Regions from separate parts of the Homo sapiens genome. Here region 1 is linked to region 2. The links are contacts of gene promoters, found by promoter capture Hi-C in human tissues and cell types (Jung and others, 2019). All regions are on one chromosome and are shown on one strand. Each heading gives the region's core, a stretch centred on a gene start or on the middle of the fragment in contact. The rest is flanking DNA. Distances are from core to core; before and after follow the strand shown.

Region 1 (3,912 bases), core at 3-2,502, 600 kb before region 2:
CTCTCAGAGGTCATTTTCTCAAACTCTCAGAAATGCTGTATAACTTTAAAGATACGTCGGCTTGTTACATGCAAAAATGGCAAAATGTTCACCAGGAAACAAAAATAATCTCATGTTTGTGCAGTCTTAAGGAAGCCGCTTTCCCACTTAAAAATCCAGCCCTTTTCTTTTCTCTAACTTCGTATTTTATCTTCCCTAATTTTACATTTTATTAAAGCTTTTACTTTTGGGAACTGCTATCTTACAGGGGAGATTTAAGAAATAATTCCAATCTCCCTTCCACAAATATTACTATAATAACATTAAAATAGAAACTCAGTTTGCCCAAACCAACATGATGCCTTCTTGGTTAAAAGATCTCTAAGGGCAAAACCCAGGTCGTTGGATGGTTTTTACGCTACGCTAACAACTGAGTGGGAATATGGCAGCAAACCTTAACAATTTATAAACGCTATGACCTTACAAAAATAGGCCGACGAAGCAGGATTATAAGCCTATCTGGGATTGAATAACTTTTTAAAATTAAACATAAAATAGGAACCAGATCAAAAAGACATTCTATGTGATCTTCTTCCCTCTCTTTGCTTAGCCGGGGGTTGGTGAGGGGACTTTCTCTAGGAACTTAGTGACTCTGATGTCTTAGTAGATGCGGTGGAACCAGCTCTGTCTACAGAACCCCGGGCTTCAGTGGCGTCTTCCTAACCCGGCTTGCCTGCCGGGGGCGTTCCGAGACCCTCGGGGCCTTCCCTTCACCCCGCGGGAGTTGGACCGGTGGCGCTGGTAAGGCCTCCCGGGCTCAAAGTGCAACGGACACTGCAGAAATCCAAACTGCTGGCATTCGCGGTTTGGGGACGCCAGAGGAGGTAATGATTTCTGGTTTGTTAACCTCAAGTGACAATAATGCCGAGCCAGGCAGGAGCTGGACCTACAATCTTCTGATGCGTGGTCAGACACGTTATCCCTTGCGCCACTGGCCTACCACGCTACTCCTTCAGTCGCCGTTGGATTACTGTGTGTTGAGAACACACTCGGCAACCACTTTAAAGGACAACGCAGGCTGGTAAAGGAAAAGTACGACAAGGGGGGGCGGTGGAATCGCAGGGTCTTGGCATCGCGGACCCCAGACACCTGGGTTGAGGGCCTTTCCCGGGTCAGTCAGGCTAGCGAGCCGGAGCGTTCTGTCTTTCTGCGCACGCGTAGAGCACACAGGCCGGCTCTGGGGCTCTGCGCTCCTCGGATTACGCATGCTCAGTGCAATCTTCGGTTGCCTGGACTAGCGCTCCGGTTTTTCTGTGCTGAACCTCAGGGGACGCCGACACACGTACACGTCCCTTCGATAGCTCAGCTGGTAGAGCGGAGGACTGTAGCTACTTCCTCAGCAGGAGACATCCTTAGGTCGCTGGTTCGATTCCGGCTCGAAGGAGACAAGTGCGGTTTTTTTCTCCAGCTCCCGATGACTTATGGCACTTTCCTTGGGTGCCTTCAGTGACACATTGCATTCCAACGAGCAGTTTGAAAGTCTAGCGCTTTCTCCCCATTTTGGGCCTCCCAGCCTGCACGGTAATTCTTTTTAGCCATTCGCCCTGCGGGAACGTGTCCGGGCAGGTTCCCAGCGCAGCTGTGGGTCTGCGCTTGGCCGAGCGACTGCCGGGTCACGACTTCTGCGTCTTCTTAACCCGTCTTTGGCATTGCCCGGGCCCCGAGTCACACAGGAGGCAGCGCCGGCTCCAGGGGGCCAGGCGGGGACCTTCTCCTCAGAGCCCCGGGCAGCTTCTGCGACCCGAGGGCTCGCAACGGCTGCCGTGAGGAGGTGGGGGGTCCGCGGGAAGAGGTATCTGGCGCTCCCGGAACCTGGGAATCAGAAAGAGAGAACACAATACTAAAAACACGAAGCCTAAAAATGACACAATGTTATGGAGACAAGGCGGCACCCGGGAAGCTGTGCCCGCTCCCTTCGATAGCTCAGCTGGTAGAGCGGAGGACTGTAGGCGCGCGCCCGTGGCCATCCTTAGGTCGCTGGTTCGATTCCGGCTCGAAGGAGAGACACCCCCCCCCCCATTATTTTGTTGCTTTGAACCAAAAAAGTCTGTCTTCAGCGCTCAATGTTCTGACCCTTCTCTAAAGGAACAGATAATAAGCCGTGCCCAGCCGTGGGGGATTAGCTCAAATGGTAGAGCGCTCGCTTAGCATGCGAGAGGTAGCGGGATCGATGCCCGCATCCTCCAGTTTTCCTTCCTGTCCCGTACGGTTTTTCTTTCGATTCTCAGCCCAAACTAGAGCTGAAAAGTCAGACGAAGTCAGGTGAAGAGTAGGGCGAGCTCCAGCTTACCACTCTAAAACTTCCCAGACAATGAGTGGTGGGCGCTAGCAGTTTATCCTTCTAGCTTTAAATTTTTAGACCCATTTAATTGGGGGGAAATTCACGAAACTGGTTATTTTTGCTTCAAAAATGGCGACAGATTGCCGTCACATGTATTATCACTCAGAATCCTTTATGATTTGTGATAAGATGTCTGCATTTCCAGGGACTCATCTGAGGCTAAGCTGCCCATAGTTCGGGGAGACCCACAGGGAAAACAAAACAAGAAACAGAGAACTTGGAAACGGACGCTGATTACTTTGAACGTTTGCTCAACCGAGGAAGCAGGAACTGTTCGGCCCCATCTCAAGTCCGCAGGGCGGACTGCCTGGCTCTGGGCAGATCCGAGGTGGATAGGACAAGGCAAAAGGTAGCCCTGGAGAGGTGAGTGGATAAAGTCCCTGGACACAGGGGCTGCCGTTGGAGGAGGTTGTAATGTCATTGTCCTCCTGTGGAAGTTAACTGTGGAGAATTAACTAGAGACCAGCGCTGAGAGAGAATTAATTGGATAAAAGTTCTATCTAGGACAGTCCTTGAGCGTAATTTTGTGAAGCAAACACAAGACAACAACAAAACGAGTAAAACCTAAACACACATCCACACACTCACTGAAAGATTCAGAGATTGCACAGAACACAAAGACTTTTCTGGTAATAAAATCTCCCTATCCTAATTTTCTAGAAAAAAAGCTGTTGAAGCCACCGCGCAGTTCTTACAAGACATAACACAAATCTTCCACACAAAGGCAGAAATACAGTATCAACCTTTGTGAGGAGTACAGCAAATAAATGATGTTTCTTTAGGGTCCTAGGCAACCTGTATGCTTTTGTTACCAGTGTATACAACATGGTATGGTTTATTGCTATCTTTCATTTTCTAGGGTGGTCTCCATTTTTACCTCGTTTTATTATTTTCAATAGTCTTTTAGTTGAATGTATTGTAAATTACTTGAAATATAACATCAGGATGTTCATAAAAACAAATTCACAAAGTAAGAAAAAGAATTATTTTATCAGATGACATGTCCCAGTTTCTAGTTTGGGATTATGGGTGTTCTAGCTGGCTGAGGGGAGGAACTGGCAGTGAAACTTTAAGTGACCGAAAGAGCAAGAAGTAAGTAGTAAGTCAAAGGAATAGGAAGTAATGCGCCCAAAACCCAGTGGAGGACACACGTTTCGGGGAGGTGACCTGGGCCAAAACTCAAAGGATATCTCAGAGTCAGCAACCCAAGCTGGGAATGGAATTCACATACAAAGCTCAAAGGTACAAATCAGGAAGCAGTAATGCATAGTGGTTAGTCAGGCAGGCTGTAAAACCTGATGGCCTTTCTTGGCTTTGCTACTTGTAGCTGCATGACCACAGGCAGGTTGCTTGACATTTCGGTGCTTCAGTGTCTTTGTTTCTCAAGTGGGGATATAATAATGATACCTACTTTTAATTAAGATATAACATGTAAAGGCCTTAGTACAGTGCCTGGCACATAGTAAACACAAAGTAAACATTAGCTGTTATGAGTGTGCAAGGAAAGAAGAAACAGAAACATAAAATGCCAT
Region 2 (3,826 bases), core at 323-2,822:
GGTGATAGCCAGGTATTTGTCTCTAAAGTGAGAATGATGTTATTCCACTTGGAGTTTATTGACACAGAACTTCCTTTTGTCTGAGAAATCTTCAGCACTGTGAATATGGCTTTAATTAAGAGATACACTCATCACTTGTTGATTTTGTTACAAGGGAAGAACTCCTCTAATGTATGTGGATTGCTTTGTGGACCACAGTAAAACATATAAAGGACCACCGGCAATGTATTGTTTTGTATCTACTGCATTCTTATATTCATTTCTGAAAACTACTGTTTAGAAAGTTCTGTAGGATTACTGAAGTACAAAAAGTATTTGGATTCACAATCCACTTTTTAAAGAGAGGCCACATTGTGGTTATTGACATTAAAAATGAATGTCCTAACCCATACTTGTGGGGCTAAATCTTTGAATATCATTTTAAAACATGAGGAAATGTCTTCTGAATTTAGGGAAGTCACACATAGATCCCAGTTCCTCTAATAACCTTTGGCAGTTTATTTGTTCATAGATTTGTGGCAAATTCTCTGGAATCATATGATCTAAAGTACAAATCATTGTCTCAAAATCTAAGGCATGATATGCACATGGGAATCTTTAAGTACTTGTCTGAGTCTATCTTCAAGTGATATCTGATAAGACCTAAATTACAGTAGTGTTGTGGGACGAAGAAAACAACCCACTCTACTTCAAAATCTTAACCACTTGACTCCACATCCATTGAACCATGTAATTCTTAGTTCTCCACTCAGCTTCTCTATCTGTTAAAAGAGATAAACAGATCTAAAACGCAGCTTCTGTAATTCAAGAATGAGTAATAAGGAGCTGTAAAGTGTGCACTCAGCTGACTTGGAGATTAATGGGAATAAAAAAAAGAGTCAGTAGATCTAAAAAGATGTGTGGAAAGGAAATTTCTCTGCACACAGGATCTGCCAATTTGTGAAAGTTCTCGACTGTTTATAAACACAAGGGCCGTAACTCTGCTAATGACAAAAGTGGAAAACTGTCCAAATAATGCTAAATGAATCACAGTTGTTCTCAATTATTTGGATATTTAATTCACTCCTCTGAGTTTCCAGTTTACACCAAGCCAACCCCCCCAACACCACGGGCCCACCCGGGGGGTCCTGATCCCTGCACACACCAGGTCATCTCTGTTGGGCCCCGGCGCTCTGGCCCGCGCCGGTCTTGGGCCCCAGGGTAGCGGCCACTGCGGGCGGAGCAGAGGGAAACACCAGAGTCTGTGACTCCAGACAGGACCCACTGTGTCCTCTTGAACTTTGCACAGCGCGTGACGGGGGCAGACGGTGCACCGTGGCCCGGCCTTTCGCGGGGGTCCTCGGGGAAGAGAGAGGAGCGCGGGTTTCCTCGGAGGCCTGAGCGGGACGCAGCCTGCAGCCCCTCCCCGCACGGGCTGCCCCCGGCCCGCCGCTCGCGCCGCTCTGCTGGGATCCGGCGCCTTCCCCGGCTGTCCTCGGCCTCCCGCGCGCTCCGCGGGAGGAGCCGCCAGCGGCCGTGACGCGTCAAGGAGGAAACGCCGGCGCCCGGCGGCCCTGCCGGGAAGGAGGAAGCGCAGTGCGTTCGGCTCCGCGCCCGCCGCGCCGGGAGCAGCACCGCGGGGCCAGGTAGGTGCGGGGCCGGCGGGAGGGTCCGCGCGCCCGGGACTCCGACGGCGGCCCGGGGCGGGAGGAGACGGGGCGGGGCGAGGGCTGCCCGGGCCTCGGCCGCTGCCTGTCCTCGGAAAAAGCCGTACCTCCGCCCAGCCCCCGGCTCCCGGAGAGTTTGTGGTCTTTGTTTCCACGAGGTGAATTCAGATCCTGCCTCGAGATTCCTAAACGCCCAAGGGGCGTCGGTGGCTGGACCTTGTTAACCCCCACGCAGCCGCCGAGCCTGGAGGAACTGGGAACGCCGAGCAGGGAGACCCTATCTGAGGTCGAAAGTGGGTGCAGGTCACCTGCGAGGGTCGGGGAGGGGGCAGCCGCCAGAGTGGGGTGGATGGAATCGTTTAACCTGTTGTCAGCGGATCTGTAGTAAAAGACCTTAATACGTTGCGTCTTTTAAGTTCTCTGTAATTTGAACCCTTACGTCTCTTCAAGTGAATCTGGCCCTATTAATTCTCACAGTTTTAGCTTTGGAATGTACCCACAAGAAGTGCTTTGAGATTTTTAGATTCTGTCATTTTTAGTCATCGTTACTTGGAAAGAGAAAAGAGAAAGGAATCATCTCTTGAAACTTAAAACGCTTTCATTGAGTTGTGCACAGTGACTTCTGAACCATGAGTAGAATTTCAGTCCTGCACCAGAGACTACTTAGTGTGCACTTGGGTGCAAAATAAATACAGAGCACTGTAATTTCTAAATCTTTTGTCAAAGTGAAAAATAGACTGTTGTGTATTTTGATTCTCTCCCTTCTCACCAGATTGAGACTTCACCCAGCCAATCTGGGAGGTGCCTTTTTTTATTTACCAAACACTTACATAGCCCTTACTATGCGCTGGGCTCTTTCTAAGTTCTTTATAAATATTAAATCAAATTCTTAACTTATCATATTATAGCGGTTCTAGCAATGAAGAGGCTATCCATACTTTAGTTCCCCAAATGTCATTGGAAGAGCTGTAAACATTAGAGGAAGTTTTAGGCATGTTTTAGCACCGGGTGTGCCTTCTGGTCCCCTTGGCTACCACTTCTGTAAGACAAGCCACCACCCCAGCATTTCCCTGGGGTAAGGGAGCCTGGAGCTCCTGGGAATGCGACCTGTTCAAAGCAGATGTTGGCCAGAACCTGAATGACTTGTGTAACATGGTCTCTTTCAACTGCCGTTGTGCCCATCGGCTAACTCTGGAGACACCAGAACTTCCCCTTCTTTAACTGCCACTGCATGGAGCCTACTTTTGTTTTTGAAAAGAGCTTTGTTCCTGATCTGTTCGACACTGTTTATATGACATTATTTATATGACATAGTTTAGATATGAGGGTCAGATTGAACTTGAAATGTACTATAAAATAGAACATTTTTGTTTGCACACATCAACATAACAAATAACGTTTTGTAATTTTACTGCTATTTGCTCTTGGAAACATTGAATTGGTAGGTCAGCCTCATAGGTGTACCTTTTGTGATTTGCAGATATGCAGAGAATATTTTTTCAGAATAACATGCCCTCTTCAAATGTGCACCATTAGAGACCCAATGTGGTGACTAAGATAGACATGATTCTTGTTATTGTGACTATGAATGTAATGTCAAAATCTGCACATCAGACTAGCTTTCTGACTCCCTCACTCCCTTTCTGTGCCCCCCTCCCTTATCTCTCTCTCATATATTTAACTTTTCAGAGAGATGATTAAGTGAGCCGATAAGCCTTATTTAATAGGATTATGAAGTGTCTCTTGAAGCAAGAAGGCTCATGTTCCTCTGATATATTAATAATTTATGACACAACAGGCATTAGTGTCATTTGTGAATTCAGTTTAGTCGGATGACCCCTAGCATTTTCATGGCTTACAAAGTGCTTCCAGACATACTCCTTTACCTTTCAGAGAGATCTTGTATGGTTGATCTCTTAATTACTTTTTATTACCTGTTTTTACAGATGAAGAAACTGAGGCATGGAAATGTTAAAGTGCTTTAGCCTGGATTGCACAGCAGGTGAGAGGCAGAGCTTGAATGGAGGGCAGGTGTGTGGACAGTGCCTGGCACGTGCAGGCCTGTAATAAACATCTGTGGAATGAATGACTCCAAATGGCTTCAGATATCTTGCTCTTTCAAAACATGTCTCTCAAAATACCGTAGTAATTGATTTATGCCTGAGAGATTTCCAGGCCTA

The links. Contacts are between HindIII fragments. The study calls those that stand out against the background at their distance.
Region 1: a fragment that was not itself captured here is called in contact with the fragment with the promoter of SGK3 in region 2 in 1 of the 25 tissues and cell types used here (mesenchymal stem cells).

What each region holds. Positions count from the first base shown.
Region 1 is chr8:66,112,037-66,115,948 of GRCh38, forward strand. TRY-GTA5-1 (tRNA-Tyr (anticodon GTA) 5-1) reads left to right here and starts at 1,331; the gene lies at 1,331-1,423. TRY-GTA5-2 (tRNA-Tyr (anticodon GTA) 5-2) reads left to right here and starts at 1,952; the gene lies at 1,952-2,040. It overlaps TRA-AGC8-2 (tRNA-Ala (anticodon AGC) 8-2), which reads left to right and starts at 2,153; the gene lies at 2,153-2,225. It also overlaps a transcript of TRIM55 not described here. RefSeq lists enhancers at 637-686, 757-836, 1,002-1,653, 1,377-1,916, 1,654-2,306 and a silencer at 1,217-1,266. The HindIII fragment of the contact is 8,750 bases long and covers 1-3,912 here.
Region 2 is chr8:66,711,209-66,715,034 of GRCh38, forward strand. SGK3 (serum/glucocorticoid regulated kinase family member 3) reads left to right here and starts at 1,573. Exons shown (of 17, transcript NM_001033578.3): 1 at 1,573-1,625. The region is part of intron 3 of C8orf44-SGK3 (C8orf44-SGK3 readthrough); the gene reads left to right. RefSeq lists a silencer at 1,282-1,751. The HindIII fragment of the contact is 13,282 bases long and covers 1-3,826 here.